Regions from separate parts of the Homo sapiens genome. Here region 2 is linked to region 1. Evidence: promoter capture Hi-C in human tissues and cell types (Jung and others, 2019). All regions are on one chromosome and are shown on one strand. Each heading gives the region's core, a stretch centred on a gene start or on the middle of the fragment in contact. The rest is flanking DNA. Distances are from core to core; before and after follow the strand shown.

Evidence for each region. The method cuts DNA at HindIII sites, captures the fragments that hold promoters and counts their contacts. A contact is called where the count stands out against the background at its distance.
Region 2: a fragment that was not itself captured here is called in contact with the fragment with the promoter of LRRC9 in region 1 in 1 of the 25 tissues and cell types used here (hippocampus).

What each region holds. Positions count from the first base shown.
Region 1 is chr14:59,917,061-59,922,514 of GRCh38, forward strand. LRRC9 (leucine rich repeat containing 9) reads left to right here and starts at 3,084. Exons shown (of 33, transcript NM_001395648.1): 1 at 3,084-3,213. RefSeq lists an enhancer at 2,244-3,443. The HindIII fragment of the contact is 18,773 bases long and covers 1-5,454 here.
Region 2 is chr14:59,121,305-59,126,721 of GRCh38, forward strand. No RefSeq gene overlaps it. Among named protein-coding and RNA genes, the nearest start is that of DAAM1, 65 kb to the right of the region's middle. The HindIII fragment of the contact is 5,527 bases long and covers 315-5,417 here.

The DNA.
Region 1 (5,454 bases), core at 1,834-4,333:
AAGACTACTACCCCCACTTAAATTCACTATCCTCAATTTGTTGCCTTAGAGCTAAGTACAAATATATCTGAAACAGAGGCAATGTCTTCTTAAAATTCCATTCTGGCTGCCTTTTAAGAAAAGCTTATCCATTAATTATATATCAACAAATCATGAACAAAGGCTATTTAGCATTTTTAGGTAGACCCATTAGAAATAGCGTTCTGTTGGTCTAATTAAAACTTTACTTCAGAATAATCCCTAACTTTTAAATGGATCTTAATACACATGTGTTGCTAGGCATCAATAACAAGAGGGCCTCTGTTGATGACTTTATAAGCACCACATAATTATATCTTCCAGTGACAAAGTAAACCCTAAGTAGTGATGCATTTGTGATTTTTATGATATATCAAATTTAAATGTGAAACAGTAAATTTTTACAGATAAAATCATTAGCTGGAAAGGACTCATTTACATAAGGATCAAATGTCTACACAAATATAAAAATCGAATTAGCATTTAAAACCTCCAGACTTGGTTCTCTGGAAGTAAAGGCACTATTAAAAGGGAGAATTGAAATTAGATGTCTCCACAGTTCTCTACCAATAAGGATAGGGCTGCTTTGAAAAATAAATTTAACAATCTATTTAAAAGGTTCTAATTAACAAATAACTATGTAATTCAAGATTTTCTTATTTGGGTCTGCAAAGTCACCTCTATTTTGTTAAAATAAGTGATTCTTTAATTCAGGATATGATATAGCAAATTTGCTATAATTAGTGGTAATATCTCTTTCCAGTTGTTTTCAGATTCAAGATGCCTTTACCCATAAATAAATAGATTTAAATTAATATGGCTTGGCCTTTGTCTAGTATGATCAGAGGTGAATAAAGTGAAGTCTTATTTCAATTAGATGATTACTTAATTTGCTTGACTCTTCAGTAGTTTCAATTTCCAGCGTTTTTTGTTCAGACATAAAACCTTATAATAAAGCTACTTTAAAGTGAGAAAAGGAGATTAACAAAAATGATCACTCTTTTTGCATTGCTTCTATGGCTTTTAACTGTAAGCATCTTTTGCTTCAAACAACATTTCGAATATGTGAACAGAAGGTGATTCTCTTAAGACTTACCCTGTGGACAAAGGCTTTATTTTGGCAAGTCACCAATAGTTCTTAAGTCTACAGCTATGCAAGAACTCAGACTCAGTTGCTGACTGGCCAGATCCTTGAGCTTTACCTAGAATAATAACAATCTTAAAATTATTTGTTTATATCATGTAAAGAAAACTGTTAGCTCTCTCCTAGTCTTTCACTGGTCAGGAAAATCCCAATAGATTCCTAAAAATATACTTTGATAATGTTTATACTTTCATCCCAGAGCTGGACCCCTCAAATTAAGAAACTTAGTGTAGATAATTCGCTGAACTGGTTTCTGTTCAAATTTCTATGTCTAGAAGTGTAGAAATCTCAACTATTATGTTCTAATTCATCTTTATACTCTATGAAGAAAACTTCCCCAAAGACAGGTCACCTTGTTCAACTACATTTCAGAGAAGATAATAGTAAAAGTAAAAACTATGAATCTGACTTTTCTGGCATTAGTTTGAAACCCCTAAGCCACAAATAACTTTAATTAGCTTATTTCGAATTATCTATTAATGACAGATAGAAACAATTTTCTGTGAAATAAGAATGTAGAGGGAAAACCAGTTAATTTTTGTTTATGTATCTTTACAAACGGTCTATATTACAGATAAAGTTAATTGAATAAAGGCAAATATGCTGAAATTGTTGACAATTGTTAAATGAGAATATTCCTAAAATCTGAACTTTTTCTTGGGAAAGCAGTTCAAAACTATAGTCTATTTAATGAGGTGGCCATCTGGTGACAGAAAGAAGCACTACAGACAATATTTTGCATTAACATCACAACTATTCTACACAAACCGACTGAACCACATAAAAGAGAGCACAGTCCAAAAGAAACATAATTCAAGTCATACATGCAATTTAAAATTTATCTAACAGCCGCATTTTCAAAATAGAAACAATAATTTTAACAATATTTTTTATTTAACCCAATGTATCAAAAATATTATTTCAACATTTAATCAATATGAAGATTAATAACGAAAGAGTTTATTTTTTTCATACTAAGCCTTCAAAATACAATGCGTACCTTACAGCACATGTCAATTTGGACAAGCCACATTTCAAGCGATCATGGGCCCTGCGAGTCTGTGGGTAGCGGCTCACCCTGCTGGACTGCGCAGATCCAGAGAACGACACGAGACCTGCGGTTGCTTTGGTTTGCCTTTTACTAAGTTCATTTCTCAGCCTCTCTGCCCACTCTGAAAAGTCTCCCCTTTCCCCCCTTTTAATTCTACTCTATTTTGTAAATTACTGTTGTCTCCTGAAAATTTTGGAATGCTTAAAAGGCACTCAAAAGCCTGTCCGAGATCGACTAGAAGACCCTCGGAAGGTCCCTCTCTTCTCTGGACCTCACTGGGCGTTCGTTTGCCCGCGCCGTCCTTCCATTCGGCTTGCCGGGCGCGCAGCGGCTTGCGGCTGTGGTCAGCCACCTTCCCGGGAGGCGGTGGTCGCTGGCCGCGGGAAGGATGCCGCGCTGGGGGTCGGGGTTCGTCCCGGCTGTCACGCCACCTTGTGACATCACAGGGCCATGCCCTCGGGGCTCAAGGCCAGAGAGGCTCCGCGCTTCCAGGACCCGAGAGCTAAAGATAATGAATGGGAGAGAGCGAGACTGGAGGAGGTAACGAATAAGTCCCCACCACCTTGCCCATAACGCGTTGCTTTCAGTCACGTTCCGCGAACTGGCGAAGGTAAGTGAAAAGATAAGCGCAGGTACAGAAAAACCTGCCAGCGAGAAGCTCCCGCCGTTTCCCAGGAGCCCCAGGTGGGGTCTTCCGGTTGGACCCCTGCTTCCGCTGATTGGTTGGAGGTCGCCACCACGTGATGCAAACCCGGGTCGGCCTCCGCTTCCCCCCCACCCTTTTATCCCCCTCCCCGCCCCTTTTCTCCTCCTCCCCACCCGGAGGTCGCCGGAGGCGGAGATCAGGTTACCTAGGCAACCGCCACAGGCAGTCTGTACACACCAGGCCTGGGGCGGGAGAGGGTTTCCTACCTTCTGCTGCAAGACAGGGATTGGGAAATCGGAGTGGACTCGGACTTGAATCGGATTGCCCCGGAATCCACCCTCTCTCTGTGATAAGGTCAGAATCCGTCACCTGGTGGCCTTCGGGCGTACATCACCGGGAGTCTTTGATCCCCTCTTTTTCCTTCCAAGCCATACCAAGGGGAAGACGCCAGTGAAGCAAAGTTGAGGTCAAGGGAACTCCGTAATGGTGCAATGGTGATGATAATGATGAAAGACAGTGAGGTGGCTTTACTGAGGCAGTCAGGGTACCAGAACAAAGTTCAAGAGAAGGAAAGGGAGGGTGGCCTACAGCCAACTATGCAGATTTTACTGCACCAATTAAGATTCTGGGCTGGAAAAACCAAGTGCTCCCTAACCAAACCTGACACTGCTCATCTAGAGAGTGTAGGGGGTTTATTTGGACCATCAGTGGTAACTGATGGATTCTGATCCTTTTATACCCAAAGGAGGAAATAATTTGACCCATACAGGACTTCTACTGGGCAGAGAAAAAAAAAGTTTTCTCAGAATGACATCCTAACCAACTCTCACGGCAGACAGAAACCATGGTCCTTTTTACTCTATCATTATACTCTGGTCATGGAGAACGATTATGTCTTTAAATTATACCATATGCCTGTGGCATGACAATTAACCCATTAAACAATTTTTTTAACAACTAGCATGTGCCAGACAGTGAACCTGTGATAGGTTCACAGTTTCTGCCTTCAATGAACATGTAACCTAGTAGGGAAGAAAGGCCCGTAAACATTGTTTTACAGTGTGACAAGTGCTATACAAAGAGTATGTGCAAGCCCTAACCAGAATCACAAGAAAGAGAATGCTTATAATACTACCAGAGAGAATGAAAGTCTTCAAAGAGAAGATCTTTGATTTAAATCTTTAGGGAAGTATGGAGTATGCCATACAGCCAAGGGAAAAGGACATTTTAGGGAGAGGAAACAGCCCATGCCAAAGTACAGAAACATCCATTCAGTTCCAGAGAACTATAGTTGTGGCCTGAACCTAGGGTCCTCTGTGGAGGTTGTGGCTGATGAGCATGTGAGGTAGGCAGGAGTCAGAGCATGGAAACCATTAATACCTTCCAAAGGGGTAAAGCATGAGCAGATTTACCTTTCAGGAGGCTGTCACAGTAGTGTAGAGGATGAACTTGAGGGAAGACAGACTACAGGGAGGACATCAAGTTAAGGGGAGGTGATGAGGGCCTGAACCAAGGCAGAGGCAATTGGAATGAGGAGGAGGAAAAAAAATGTGGTAAGACCTTTAAGAGGTATATGCAGAAGGATTTAATGAGTGAATGAAAATAGGGGGATAGAGTCAAAGATTGGTTGAGGATAATAGCTCAACCAATAGAAGAATGGTGGTGTTACTTTTCAAGAGAAGGCATACATTAGGAGAAGGAGGCTGGTTGGAAAATATAATGAGTTCAATTTTGAACACACTGAATTTGAGATGCCTGTGGCACATTCAGATGGAGCTTTTTCATGTGGGCAGTTGGATTTTTTTTTTTTTTTTTTTTTGCACAGAAAAGAAGATAAGGATTTTTCACCATGAAGAAAACAATTGGTTTGAAAAGCACAAAGTAGGCCAGGCACGGTGGCTCATGCCTGTAATCCCAGCACTTTGGGAAGCCGAGGCGGGTGGATCACAAGGTCAGGAGTTCGAGATTAGCCTGGCCAATATGGTGAAACCCTGTCTCTACTAAAAATACAAAAATTAGCCGGGTGTGATGGCACGCGCCTGTAGTGCCAGCTACTTGGGAGGCTGAGGCAGAAGAATTACTTGAACCTGGGAGGCAGAGGTTGGAGTGAGCCCAGATTGTGCCACTGCAGTCAAGCCTGGGCAGCAAAGTGAGATTCTGTCTCAAAAAAAAAATAAATAAATAAATAAGAAAGAAAAAAGAAAAGAAGAAAAGCACAAAGTAAGTTTGAAATAACAAGTAGAGAGAAGCCAAGGAGAAAAGTTGAACCAAAGAAGAAAACGTGAAGAAGAGAGTCGTCAGCATTGTCAAATGCCATGTCAAGGTCAAGTTGAGAATCAAAACATGTCCGCTGTCTTTGGCCATTAGAAGGTTATTTTTGACCTTGTAGTGGCTTGAGGTGTTCTCAGTCCAGATGGCAGTGAATCCAGGACTGAAAGCAGGTAGTGATGTGTTGCTAATGATTATCTAAAAGGTGTACCATAAAGGTATCTAAAAACAGCTATTCATAGAAGAATATAGGAGAGACTTTTTAAGATAGGAAAGACTTAATATTTATATACAGAAATAAAGGAGACCGTTGACAAGGAAATTTGG
Region 2 (5,417 bases), core at 1,828-4,327, 800 kb before region 1:
GTATTTACCTCCTAATTTTAGGTGGCCTTCAGCACCATCCACCCCAAACATAACCTGTCCTCTCTCCCACCATCCATGCACTAAGTACCTGTGAATTCCATCACTGCTGATTCCAATGGGACCCAGAATTCCTTCCTTATGTACTAGCTCAGCACATCCATTCATCGCAAGGCTTGTTGGCAATGTTGGTAACTCTGCTTTTCATCATATAACTTTGGTGCTGTATATCATTGGGCAGTTCATGAACTTGAATTTTCTATGAAAATACCACCGAAGAAGCACAGTCCATCAATTGTTTCATGGAAAAGCTAGCAAAAGAATTAGCCAAGGATGGCTTTGCCCAAGTCCCAATAACTCAATAGAAAACATTCTTTTTCCATGATAGAATGTCTACCTATCTTGATAAACTCATATTCTCTCTGCATATTCTTTGCCTTGGATGTTTAACAAAGTATCAACGCCTGGAGAAAAGAGCAGAAAGCTGGAAGCATGAGTCCAGGAGTTAGACTCAGCTTGGAACTTGCTCTGTAATCCGAGTCAAGTCACCTCCTTCTTCAGGTGTCATTGTGGATTTCACCACACAAGTACTGAGGCTAGGAAAACAAAAAGTATTAAACCTGTGCTAAAGGTACTTTTACATAGTGTCAAGGACGATGAATGGGTCTGAGAATTTTCCCAACTTGAAATCTAATAAGCTGGTCAGCCACAATGTCATGGATGCTGACAAAAAACATGAGATTCCTGGGTCAGAGGCAAACAGAGCAAGCAGCATGAGAGTCAGCATATTTGAATCAGCACCTCTTGCTCCTGAGCTGTACAGGAGTGACACACATGTACCCAGAAGGAAGCCTGAACACGGTTGCATTTTAGGATAGGAATTCTTGAGTTTAGGGAATCTGAATCTTTTCCAATGGGCAATAAGCATGCCTGCTCTAGGGGAAGACATTCTATGTGCCAAGGCTGTTTGCTATACAAACATCCTTGAAGAGACAGTCCAGAACAAATGGCAACCAATACTTTGCTCACAAAACATGCCGCAATGTGAGAGATCCTTTAAGAATTATCTCCCAAAATCTGGCAACCTGTATATATACAAAAGAGGCAAATTATACTTATATATCACTTTACTGGGAAAACTGTTTCCAGAAGATATACTTAATTATGGTCTTTCTTTAGAATTTAAATTTAATGCAAATAATAACAAGCTTTCCCAGTAAACATCTCACTTTATAAATGGAGGCTTATTCTCTCAAATGCCAAGCAATAATATTGTATTTAATTAATGGGGTATCATGCTTATTAGAACCTATCATTATTTGAGACTCCAATATGGACCAGATACTGTGCTAGTTTTGTGATTGATCTGTATTATTACATTTTATGTTAAAAAATTACTGCAAATTAGACATTATTTTACAAGTGTTGGAAACTGAAGCTAAATGATCAACATCTAGGTACATTTGCTTCCTAAAGCCATGCTTTTTCTACTAACCTGTGTGGTTGGCATGGTAGCCAACAAATAACACATGGAAATTGAAGTGGCCTGAAACCTAAGTCGTAGTCATTGACAACTAAGGTTTACTGAGTGCTGCCTGAACTCAGTCATTCTCATTTTCTAAGCCAGCGCATCAATCTCATGTGTATGGGAGATACCTGAGGAGTAGGTGAAGACGCAGATTCTTAAGCTTCAGCCCAGAAGATTCTAGTTCAAATGATCTTTGTTGAGGCCCAATAATTTCTATTTTAAACAAACTCTTGAAAATATTTTAAATGCTGGTGGTCCTTAAAACTCATCTGAAGAACACTAGGAAAGAATAAAATCTATAAAAAGAACGATATAAGAGCAGTGACAAGGTGGCCACTCTAGAGCAGATTTATAGTTTTACAAAATGTAGGGGTGCCAGTTAATTTGAAGAGCTACTATAGAAGCTAATCAGAAAGAGAAATTTAAACAACAACAAAAATAGAAACACACATTATTATCAACCAAATGTGGGACTGGATTATGAAAAATACAGGGGAAGATAATATCCAAAATATATAGATATAGAAGTGACCTGGTTTGTTATTTTATTATTTAAATTAAGAATTCTAGATCCCAATCTTTTCATAAAGATTTATTTCTTACTTCCCAAAGATTTTATGAGAAATAGAGCAGACCAGCATGCAGGGAAATGCCATGAAATTTGCAACCTCTGTGAGCCTCAGAAAAATGGGAATAATAAATTTGGCTTTGTAGGGGTCTTATAAAGATTAAAATTATTTTTCAAGTATCTAATATAGTATCTAGCACACTGTAGGCACTCATTAAATGTAGTGGAGGTATGCGCTTTTCTTCTGTTTTTCCACCAAAGTCACAAATGAGTGAGAAAGCAACAATTGCTAAGTCAATCCTGAGTCAAGCTTGGCACCAAGGCTGATTGTGAAAGGTTCTTGTCCTGCTTCCAGCGCCTGATTTGAGATCTGAAGCAGGAAGGGGATGCTGAGAGCAGTCTTGCATTCTAAAGGTGAAGGGTTTCCGCCAGAGGGTAGAACTTTGCTTTTCATGGATACTATGTCATCATGTACTAAAGTTTGGTATATTCTTCAGGTTTGTCTCTAATAGATGTGAATACAAATCAGTGATATTTAATGATTTCATATGTATTTTGTTCAATAGCTAAATCTAATTCTCAAGGATTAAGTAATTTTAAATGAAGGATATAAGATACGATATAAGAAAAAAGAAAGGTTGCAGTATATATTGGGTTGATATCTAAAGCTTGTCATTCCCTGTCTGAAAGCTGCAATATATAATCCATTTGCTTTTTCATTTCCAGTGTTCAAATTCTATCTTCAGCATAGTGAGCCCAAACAAAACCAATTCCTTTCATGCCCTCTACTGGATATTTGAAGTTAAACGTCAATAACACTGCAAAGTAACCAAAATAATGATACACATAATATCCAGAATGTTCTTTTATAGCCTCTTTAAATAAAAATTCGTTTACATTGGTTCACTGGTATCAGATTTCCTTTTTCTGCCTAAAATGCAAATTTCAGAGTCACTTCTTCGTATTATATGGAAATTATTTGTTGAGGGAAAAGGAGTGAATAAACGTAGTTTGTATAACTGACACCTTTGAGGTGTCTCAAAGGAACAGCGGTGTCATTGGCTGCTGTGATATTTAAGCTTCCTTTTTGTTTCTGTCCTGGTTCAATAGTAAAATCTACCAGCAGTTGAAATCTGTATTAGAAGGGTGGGATGGTAGAGCCCACAACTGAAAAAATTCTCCATATTAGCTGTTTCCATCAGACAAAACCCATCAGAAGGAGGGCAAAGAAGTTCTTTGCTTGGTGACCTGGCTGTCTATAGCCATCTTTGCATCCACTTTAAGGGTGTCTGGAAAGATGTCCCCTTGCTCCCAATTCAGCTCACCTACCCTCTCCCAGGGCTTTGTTTTACTCAGCAGTGCCATACCAATTATTAAATTTGTAAAATTTCCATAGCAGTTGTTACGTGGCCACTGCCCTTAGCTACCGTCTGCCACTCACCATGCCTTGACTTTCCCACAATCAAGAAATTGAAAGGTCAAATCCGGGTCTACTCACTCCAGGAAATTTCCTGATCCAATCCACCCAGACACCTAGATCCTTCAGGCCCTACACAGGCCTAAATGGGTGTAGTCCTGTCTATGTCAATCTGGCCTGAAACATCAGCACCAGAGATGTTACTGCAGAGCTACACGTCAGCAGGACCAAGGAAGAAAGGAGGTCCCATGTTTTTCTCTCTACGTAGCAATAATAGGTAAGATTTATGGAGAACATATTACATGCCAGCTATAATACGCATTGTTTCATTCACTCTATAACGGCTCTATTTTACAGATGAGTAAACAGAAACATCTGATAACTTCCACCTAGTGCATGGAGAGCTAGAATTTGAAGTAGGGCTGACCAATACCAAAGCCTGATGTCTAGTGAAATTCACACAATGCTGCAAATCTGAAGACTCTGCAGCAGATTTTGTAGGTACTTTCAGCAGAGGAGTTTCAGAAATGCTTTGCACAAACACAGGTTCACCAAGTGAGTGATCACACGGGAAGACCACGTGGGAAGGTGGGTAGTCTCAGTCACTCTCAGTTGCACCCTTTACTTCAGGGAGGGCAAGGGAACAAAACTTCGGATTACCAATGATGTAACTCCCATAAAAACCAAGTAAGAAAAGTCCCCCAGACTTCTCCTTCAGCTTGTTACTTAATATTGGGTGTTGAAGGATCTTTGGGGATGGGAGGAGGAACAATCATGATTCTCATGCAAATATAAAACATGCTTATGTCAAACTTTCATTTAACTCATTAATTAAATGAGGTAACAGGTAAAATAATAGTAGAAGCTAATAACTCAACATGAAATCCCATAGCTCAATTGCATGGTGATTGAGAGAATAAGACTTCATTAACAACAGGTTCAGAGAAAGCCAAAAAGCAGAGACATTTATAGATCAGGAAGAGTGAAATGGATTTGCAAATGGAAACAAAATTGGTGCTTTTGTGTGTGTGGACAGGGAGGAGTCAATTAACTTTCCACTGGACAGAATTTATTTATATGCCTATGGGCATATTTGCATTGCTATCAGTTTTGTACAAGTTAACTTTGATCCCTACAAAATTATAAAATAGCCTAGTCAAAGACAAAGGTGCATATTTGGATAGGAACATAATCCCCAGTGGTTATAGCATTACCTGGAACATTACCTTGAAAAAACATTAATCCTGATCAATCTTGTTTTGTTTATTCCAATGTCTTTTTTTTTTTTTTTTTTTTTTTTTTTTTGGAGACGGAGTCTCCCTTTGTCACCCAAGCAATTGTTCGTGCAGTGGCAAGATCTCAGCTCACTGCAACCTCCATCTCCCGAGTTCTAAATGATTCTCCTGTCTCAGCCTCCAAGTAGCTGGGATTACAAGCGTGTGCCACCACACCCAGCTAATTTTGTTTCCTAACATGGATCAAGTGGTGAAAAAAATCAATAGAACTAATTCTTTAGCACTGACCTACGTTTATGAGCAGTTGCCGTAGGGTTTGGATTGGGGAATGAGCAAGAAAGATTAGGAAAATTAAAATTTACTCTCTCCAGCCTCATTCTCAGGAGAGTATTTCAGAGATGAAATATAAAAGCAAAGATCTGTAATCCCAGCACTTTGGGAGGCTGAGGTGGGCAGATCACCTGAGGTCAGGAGTTGACCAGCCTGGCCAACATGGTGAGACCCTGTCTCTACTAAAAATACAAAAAATTAGCCAGGCGTGGTGGCATGGACCTGTAATCCCAGCTACTCTGGAGGCTGAGGCAGGCAAATTGCTTGATCCCAGTAGGTGGTTACAGTGAGCCGAGATTGCGCCACTGCACTCCAGCCTGGGTGACACAGTGAGACTACGTC